Linked DNA regions of Homo sapiens: region 2 is linked to region 1. Evidence: promoter capture Hi-C in human tissues and cell types (Jung and others, 2019). All regions are on one chromosome and are shown on one strand. The core of a region is centred on a gene start or on the middle of the fragment in contact, and the rest is flanking DNA. Distances in the headings are between cores, read along the strand shown.

The links. The method cuts DNA at HindIII sites, captures the fragments that hold promoters and counts their contacts. A contact is called where the count stands out against the background at its distance.
Region 2: a contact is called between a fragment that was not itself captured here and the fragment with the promoter of BPIFA1 in region 1, in 1 of the 25 tissues and cell types used here (spleen).

The regions. Positions count from the first base shown.
Region 1 is chr20:33,233,845-33,238,622 of GRCh38, reverse strand. It overlaps BPIFA1 (BPI fold containing family A member 1), which reads right to left and starts at 2,627. Exons shown (of 9, transcript NM_130852.3): 1 at 2,573-2,627; 2 at 752-926; 3 at 409-568. The coding sequence starts at 911. The HindIII fragment of the contact is 6,820 bases long and covers 291-4,778 here.
Region 2 is chr20:33,193,121-33,197,898 of GRCh38, reverse strand. It overlaps the pseudogene BPIFA4P. Among named protein-coding and RNA genes, the nearest start is that of BPIFA3, 22 kb to the left of the region's middle. The HindIII fragment of the contact is 4,694 bases long and covers 1-4,606 here.

The sequences.
Region 1 (4,778 bases), core at 1,378-3,877:
AAATGACCACAGTGTAGTGGGAAGAGCCTTGGCTTTGGAGTTAGGATAGTAGAGTGAGAGCCTTACTCACTTGGCATCACTCTAGCAGCGTGAACACAGGCACCTCTGTGCTTTGGTTTTCCCATTTGCAAACTGGAGATTATTAAATCGACCTCAAAGGGTTGTGGTGAGGATTATAGATGATGCTGGGGCCTCAGGACATGCCTAGAACTGAGGGCATTGCTGGTTTGGGGAGGACGGGTGTCCCTGCCAAACTGGAGATGGGTCTCAGAACTGAGTCCTGGCTCCATCTTCAGGCCGCTCCCTCGCTGCTTCAGGGTCGCTGCTTCAGGGTCACTGCCTGGGGCTGGCAGATCTTCACCTGGGGTTCCCTGGTGGAGATCAAAGCTCTATTTTAGGACAACTCACTCAATGATGTTGTTCAGGCCAGGAATCACTGACGTCACTTTTCCAAGCAGTCCCCCAAGGAGGCCACCAGAAGTACCTCCTCCAGGCTTCAGGATGTCCAGGAGCGGAAGGTTTTCCAGAATGCCCAACAGGCCCCCAGACAGCAGGCCATTGCTGAGGGCTGGAAATGGGTGTAAGGGTCTCTGGGGGTCAGATCTGACAATTCCAGATCCTCAGGCCCCCTCCCCCATCCAGCCCTGTCCCTCCCCACTTTGCAGGGTTGGACACACACACACACACACACACACACACACACACACACACACACACACACACATGCACACATACACCCCTGAAAACTCACCATTTGTCAAGCTTCCTGCAAGACCTGTGGGACTCAAGGGCAGGGCTGGATTCACATTCAAGGGCAGGGTCTGGTCCAGGGGCACGGGCAGGCCTCCAAACTGGGCCATGGTCTGGGCTAACAGCCCGTAGAAGACAATGAGGCCCCCAGTTTGAAACATCTTTGCTCTTAGTATCTGTGGCCAGAATGACAAGTCCAACATGGCATGGGTATCAGAGAGGAATTTATCCACCACCTGCCCTGACACCTGGGGGGTGGGGTTGTTTGCTCCCCAGAACACCAGGGGGTCACTAGTAATAGCTAATACTGCTGAACAATTTCTCTTTGCCAGGCAACAGGCTGACCACTTTACACAATTTCATCTTCATCACAACCCTAAGACATGGGCACCTGTTACCTGCATTGCACAGGTGAGGACCACTGATCAGGGGCCTAAAAAGGAGACAGCCCCACTCCACCACATTCCAAAGAAGAGGGTTTTTTTCCTTCTTGCCAAGAATCCCAGCCTCACCTCACTCCATCTTGCCCACAGTTCACTTGTCTGATTTTCCAGTAGGAGAAACCAAGGCTCACAGAGGTCAAGTGAGTTTGCAGTTGGGAGTTTCAAATATACTCCCATCCCTTCTTGAAACCCACTTGTGTACTACCGAGTGTGGGTAACTTTCCCCAAGGTCACAAGTACACGGTGGACAGAGGATTAGAAGCTAGAGCCAGGTGAACCCTCGGTTAAATTAAGTAACCATCAGATTTATTCTCCAATCGGGCTTGCTTCAATGGTTTGAATCATTGCTGCTCTTCAGACAAAGCAAATGAGAAGGGTTAAACGTGCAAGTGCTGAAGAATTGAACTGTTTTAGATCATCCCTGTTCAGTCCTTTGGCCTGAGCTCAGGCCATGATGGTTGGTGGATGCCCTTGAAAGTCACACAATACAGGGGTCGCATGGCCACAGCCACCATCTCATGTAGACCTTTGTTGGGGAATTCCTGGGGCCATCAAAGTCTTCATTGCATGAGAAGAACCAGGAGACCAAAGAGGGGTAGTGACTTTCCCAAGGTCATACAATAAATTGATGGCAGAGCTGTGGTTGAAGGCAGGTCTCCCAACCCTCCCCTCACCCAACACACAAACATGCATTCTATCATTTTGACACCTTTCTCTTCTCCTTCAAGCTGCCCTGGATGGAATTCCGGTCAACCCCTGAGGTTTGGCTTGCAGACCTCTCACAGGTCTATTTGGCAGCCAGCAGAGTTGTCCAGAGCCAGCACTAGTACCTACAATTTGGAGACAACTGGTGACTTTGTGCAAAATTCCATCTATTGGCTGACTCAGCTAAAGCTCCATCCTTGTGGTGGAAGGCTGGAAATGAAAGGTCTTTGGTCCAAAGAGCCAGTTGTGCCCTTCTTAGGGAGGTAACTTTGACCACAGCCTCTGAATCTCTTTTGGGCAACAGACCCTTTATGAATCCAATGGAAGCTAAAGATCCTAGTCTCAGAAAAAATGCATCAAAATGTATAAAATTGGGTGAAGAATTTTAGGAGGTTTTTGGATCATCTGTATCCACATTGGTAACCTCAAGCTAAAACTTATGCCTTAGAGGCTTTCATTTACGGCATTAATAGTGCCCATTTCTATATCAATGTTACTGGTCTCTTAGGACAGCAGAGCAAATGGCCATCCCCACATCCCTGACATTGGCCAGGTCTGTTTCTCTTGCACAGCCCCCAGTGAGTGATCAAGATCACTCACTGCCCCACAGGGCAGGAGCCTGAGATCCCTGCCGTTAAGGGTAGCAGAGGGGCCACAGAATGGATGGCTCTTACCTGGACTTCTTAGAGGTCTCAGCAGCTGTCCTGGTCTCCTCTCTCTCCCCCACTCACTTCTGCCGAGGAGTCAGCCTCTTTTATAGTATGGGGACGAGGAAGCATGTGTTGGGTGATGGGTTTCTAGATAATTGAGAATTCTGCAATCTGACAGTGTCTTTCAGGGCTCTCCAAAGTAAATAATTGCCAATCACATTAGCAGGTGAGACAGTTAAGCTATTTGGTCAACAAGATAAACAGAGAAAAACCTGAGATGGGATGTTACTCAAGACTTTATGGTTTCCTGAGCGGAGCCAAGGTTGGGGACCCACGCTCCCAAGGTAGCTTGGAGCATTGAAAGGAGCAGCCAGACAGAGCCCAGGAAGGGACCTCAGTCTCATCTCTTGGCCCCTTTCCTCTCCTGCTCTAATTTTTTTGCTCCAGTTGGAGGATTCTTTCTCCTAAAATGTCAAAAGAGTCACACTGCATCCTACATCTGGGGTGCGTCTCCATTCCAGGGCAAGGGTCTCCTGTTTTCAGAGCCCCTATTGCACGTCAGGAGCTCTCTGTCCTCACAAGAACCCTGAGAGGGAGAGGTGACTCCTCCTCTTTTATAGAGGAGGAAACTGAGATCCAGTGGGGACAAGTGCTGAAAGACCCAGAGAGGATGCAGCAGAGTTAGAATGCAACTGACTGGAGAATGAAAACAACAAAAACAACGCCAACAGCAGACACTGGCCGAGCTCCTGCTGTATGCCTGGCCTGCCATGGTGTTCACAGGCAGCATCTCACAAAATCCTCACAACCCTGTACTCCTATTCTATAAGGGGGAAACTGAGGCTGAGTGTGAGGCAAGTTGTCCAGAGATGCAGTGCTTGCCTGGGGTGAGACATCCACATTCAGGTCCTTTCCCCGAATCACTGCACTGAGAGATGAAGGTGCCTCCCAACACTTGCTGGCCATTTTGATTTCCCCACCTGTGAACTTTACACTTTCATGCGTCCCTTTTTATTTTTTAAATTTTCACTTAATTTTTATTTTATTTTATTTTTTGAGACAGTCTTACTCTGTCGCCCAGGCTAGAGTGCAGTGGTGTGATCTCAGCTCATGACAACCTCCACCTCCCGGGTTCAAGTGATTCTCCTGCCTCAGCCTCCTGAGCAGCTGGGACTACAGGCGAGCGCCACCATGCCTGGCAAAGTTTTTGTATTTTTAGTAGAGATGGGGTTTCACCATGTTGGCCAGGCTGTCCTCGAACTCCTGACCTCAGGTGATCCACCTATCTCAGCCTCCCAAAGTGCTGGGATTACAGGCGTGAGCCACAGTGCCCCGCCGCTTCTCTTTTAGGTCCTGGAAAAGTCTTTCCAGGTTCCCAGGCCTGAGGGATCCTTTGGCATCCTGGTCTCTATCCTACCCTTTCTTCTACCTTTCCCTAAATGGAGTAATCAGGCATTTATTTATCCCCACCACTGGGGCCCTTGGAGTCTGTTCAGCAGATGAAAAAGTGAAGACACAGGAAGGCCAAGGTCCTGGACCAGTGAGCGCAGCTCTTACCCTGCAAAACCTAACACCTTATAAGCAAAAGTGGAGAGAGAAGGAATAAATGTGCTTTTATTAAGCACTGACTGCATGCCAGGTGCTCTCCATATTTGAACCTCATCTTCTTCAGGAGTGGTTGGTATTGTTGTCTCTCATACATTGGATGAGGAGGCTGAGGATCAGAAAGGGTGACTGCTTCCTGGGGACACACAGCGAGTGAGTGTTGGAGTCAATTGACCCTGCCACCCTCTGTGTCTGTCTGAGTCCCTGCTAATCAGTGGGCCACACTGCCTCCCTCACACTAGGCCTTCACTGGCCTGCTCCACTGCTCTCCAGAGTCTGGGTGGTGCCCCCAAGGGTTTGGGGCCATGGCTTTGAACTTAATTATCCATTCAAGGTACTTGCTGGACTCTGCCCACATCTTGTACATGGCAATCATCCTCACAGTGGTCCCATCGTATAACTCTTGTGGGTTGGGTCAGGTTGCTACTATCCTTGTGGGGAAACTGAGGCAGATAAGGCAAGGAATTAGTAGAGTTTGTGCAGCCAGTTAATGAAAGCTTACACCCTCTGGTTTGAGGCCGGGAGGCTGTGTCTGTATTGCAGCAGAAAGTGGGTGAATTTGGGCTCAAACAGCCCTGGTTCAAATCCTACGACCCTGGGCAAGTCAGTCCAGTTCCCTGAACTT
Region 2 (4,778 bases), core at 1,010-3,509, 40 kb after region 1:
GGCTGCTGCGAGAGGCTGCATAATGTTAGAGTTATGACAATGGTCTCTGAAGACCCCCACCTGTTAGCAGCTGTGGGATTGTGGGATTTAGTGCAAGTTGCTTCACCACACGATGTTATGCAGGACACACTATCCTCATTTTACAGCAAAATGGTGGTGGTGATATGCCCTGGCTTCAGAGACAGACAGACCTGGGATGGAATCCCAGCTCTGCCACCTACTTGCTGGATACCTTAGGCTTTCCTCATCTGGAAGATGCAGAGGATCCAAACTCATACCTTCCTCTTGCTCTTGTCGTAAGCACTTAGCACAGTACCTTGCACATTGTAAGTGCTTCACAAATGGTCACCACTGTACTAATGCATCATTATGATCATGATTTTCACTTGACATTTTCAAGGGCTTACCTCCCTGAGCTGATGGGAGAGAGTAGGCTCCACAGCACAGACAAGAAGGGCCCAGGCTGAGGGACCAGGGCTGGAGTATGTGGACACTGTAGGACCATTTACTGTGCCCGCTTGAATGGCACACTCCCTGGGCTAGGAGTGGCCCTCGGGATCTTGACACACCCTCCACACCTCCTGGAAAGGAGGTGCATGAAGATGTTCGTGTGGCTTCCTGGGACTTCAACCAAATGCCAGTGCAAATGGTCCCATTAGGACCTGAGACTAACAGGTAAAGGCTGGTAGGGACCGATTCTCTCCTTCGACACTTGACAGATTCCAAGCAGACTCTCAGCCCAGTCCCTGGTCACTATTCTCATGTAAATTCATAACCCATTTGGTTTAGCATTTTATTTTATTTTATTTATTTATTTATTTATTTTGAGACAGAGTTTCACTCTGTTTCCCAGGCTGGAGTGCGGTGTGGTGTGATCTCGGCTCACTGCAACCTCCGCCTCTTGGTATCAAGCAATTCTCCTGCCTCGCCTCCCAAGTAGCTGGGATCACAGGCATCCACCACCACGCTCAGCTAATTTTTTCATATTTTTGGTAGAGACGGGGTTTCACCATGTTGGCCAGGCTGGTTTCGAACTCCTGACCTCAGGTGATCCATCCGACTTGGCCTCCCAAAGTGCTAGGATTACAGGCGTGAGCCACCGCAACTGGCCTGGCTTAACATTTTAATTTGGGTGATCTGTTTTTAGGCAAGTAGAAAAATTAGAAAGTGAAGATATGCACAAAGAGAAAAAAGTAAATAAAAATCAGTTCACAGAGATAACTTCTGTTGTATCTTTTTTTGGAAGTTTTTCTTTCCATAGGCGTGCATTCATGTAACATGATGAGAAACAAGGATTGGCCTGTCATGCTTCTACAGAAGCATTTATTCAAGTAGCAGTACATCAGGACTGTCTACCTCCTTGTCTGCAGAATTTTCTAAGGTATGTATTGACTGATGTTCATGGAATGTCTCCTCTTTTGGGCTATTTTCATGTTTTTACCCCAGATGGCACCGGCAGGAATATCCTTAGGTGTTTTTCTGCATTTACCTGCCACATTATAACCCACGAAGCATTTTCTAGGAATAACCAACCCTGAAGTTCTTTTTGTTTGTTTGTGTGTGTGTTTTATTTGTTTGTTTGTTTTGTGTGTTTGTTTGTTTGTGTGTTTATGTGTGTGTGTGTGGTGTCTTGTTTTGTTTTGTTTTTGAGATGGAGTTTCGCTCTGTCACCAAGGCTGGAGTGCAGTGGCGCAATCTCAGCTCACTGCAACCTCTGCGCAAGCCACCACACCCGACTAATTTTTTTTTTTTAATTTTAGTAGAGACGGGGTTTCACCGTGTTGCCCAGGCTGGTCGTGAACTCCTAAGCTCAGGTAATCTGCCCGCGTCAGCCTCCCAAAGTACTGGGATTACAGGCGTGAGCCACCGCGCCCAGCCTGTTTTTATAAGTATCGAAGCATTCTCTGTGTTCATCCTTCTCACCCTATCCCTGAACCCCAAATGAGGGGTTGCACAGTCCCTATGAAATCTAAGTTCAAGTTCCATCTGCAGAGTTCTGGTTTTGATCATGACAGAGTATCTTGCATCAGACTAACACTCCCAATTAAAGTCAACTATAAGAGATGGAAATCTGTAAAAACAAAGGAGGACATCCATGAGCAACTACATGGGCACAATTTGAAACCCCGTGATTCTTGAGAAAGAGGCATCATTCAAGGCGGGCTCCATATTCACCCAGCTTTTGCCTGAGGTCATTTTCCAACATGTCAACCAGGGTCCAAGCAAAAAGAGCTAGTCTTACAGGGATGAGGGGACAGAAGTTGGAATTTGGGGCTACCAGAGTGGCTGGGACTTGAGGGGCAAAAATCCCAAAGAGGAAGTTCCCCAGGGAAGGAGCCTTGAAATCTCAGCTTTTTAAGCTGCACCCTAGCAGTGTGGGACTCTCAGCCATGTGGCAGAAAATAGCAGGTGAAAGTTAAAAAGCTGAACAGAGACATCAGCACATCCACTGTGTGATGCTGGGGAAGGAAGCGCTAGTTTGAGGTGGGGCCCCTTTGATGGGAGGAACCTTGGTACACATCTTAAGCTCTCAGTGAAGACATAAAGCACTGTGCTCTAGGAGAAAGGGCCACACCCTAGAAATAGTCTCCCTCTAAAAGTAAGAACAAGACCAAAATAGTTCTACTTAATAAAACACAAAGCTAAGCCTAGGCAGGGTCATGATCCATTTCTGCTCTATCTTTCTGCCATCTTCGTTTCTGGAAAAAAGATAATGTCATTTCACCACCATGTTCAGCATCCAATAAAAATTTACAAGGCATGCATGCTTAAAAAATGACCAAGGGACTAAAGGCCAAGAAATTAAAATATATGATATAATAAACCCACAGGCAAGTCAAATATTCAAATATTGAGCAGACAACAGGGCAAGAAACCAACAGAGGATAAGGAGGCCCGAGACCTTCAGCATCTTGGGGCAGTACCCGTGGGATACCAGGTAAGTACAGTCAGCTTCAGGGTCACTCTGAGAGGTTCTCTATGGAGCTAAAGGAGATAGGGGGGAAGCAAAGGAGTCATTTGGACTCATTCTTACCCACCCAACACCCATTTTTTTTTTTTGAGATGGAGTCTTGCTCTGTCACCCAGGCTGGAGTCAGTGGCACGATCTCGGTTCACTGCAACCTCTGCCTCCTGGGTTCAAGCGATTCTCCTGCCTCAACCTCCCGAGTAGCTGGGACTACAGGTGTGCTCCATCATGCCCAGCTACTTTTTGTGTTTTTAGTAGAGACAGGTTTCACCATATTGGCCAGGCTGATCTCAAACTCCTGACCTCGTGATCCTCCCACCTCCGCCTCCCAAAGTGCTGGGATTACAGGCATAAGCCACCGCACCTGGCCCAATACCCATTTTACAGATGGCACACTGAGGCTCGGATCAGGGTTAAGTTTTCCTAAGGCCAGCTGTAGTTAGTGGCTAGCACCTGGCTCTCCCGTCTTTTAGTTTTTTATACTTTAATCTGCATCTCACTCAAAAAGGTTACTAGGAGAATTCAGGAAGCATTTTGAAAATTGTTTAGCCTAGTGCCACTAAATAGAAGTTAATTTTGGATTTGCAATTAAAGTTCCTTTTTATCCCTCCCTGGTTCTGACAGTGAGTACCCTTGGAAGACTCACAGACAGTCTGAAGGAGGGGAGGGTGGCCAGGGAGCATCTTTCCTGCTGGGTGTTGGAGGAGTCCCCCAATTCCTTACAACATCCCAATCTTATGAGACAGTTATTGACATGCTTCCTTTACAGAGCAGGAAACGGAAGCTTGGAGAGCCGAGGGCACATGCCCATTCTTCCCTCTTTATTTACAGAATCCTTTTATTTTTGAGGGAAGAAATGTGCTTAACAAAGAAATTATCTTTCCCAACCTTCTTTGCAACCAGGCATGATCAATGAGATATAAATGGAAATTGTAGGTCGGGGCTTCTTAAAAACTTCTCTAGAGTGGCTGACCCAGCTGCAAATTGCATGCTTTTGTTTTCCTCTCCTGCTTTTTCCTGATTACATATAAGATATGACGACTGGAGCCCAGCAGTTATCTTACTAGCAGGAAGATGAAAGCCACATCCTAGGGGTAGCCAAGGAAGGAGATGGCAGGCTCTGCCAGCCTAACTCTGGGCTTCTCATCATGATTGAAGCCACGATTTTTCATGTTCTGTGCTAGAACCAAACACAATTGGTAATAACTGGTAACATGTATCAAAAGCTTTAGTCTGGTTCAGCATCTGATGAAGAGGCAGGTTGGAGAGTGCCATTGCCTTGTGCTTACCTGGATTTCTCTGGTGTGCTGTCAAGACACTCTGGCCTCTGTAGGTTGATTCCCGATGACTTTGTAGGGGGGCAGACTGTATAAATGGCAAGTGATCCCATTGCTGGGGGAGACGTGGCACTGGGTGATGGACAGCTAGGAAGCTGATGGAAAGCCCTTGATTTTACCACGTCTATCCAATACCTCCAAAGCAAACATTCCTGCTTGGAAGGCCCGGGGGAATGTCAACAACATATTTGAATCTGTACATCATGAATGCCATCAAATGGAGAGGTGCAGAGAGTGTGGAGAGCACCGAGAGGGGCTGCAAGTGGGAAGATGGTGTGCAGGAGTCACATTCACATCCCTGCTCCACTCTGAGATGCTTTTCTCATCTGTACAATAAGCGAGATGGGCCTGGTGACTCCGAGGAAGGAAGCCACTCGGTCTTCTGTGAGTGGGGAGGCAGAGGGTGTCCTAGCTTCAGTTTACTGGTTTGTGGTCCCAGACCCTTGAATTCTAGCATGGCGCTGCCCATTTCT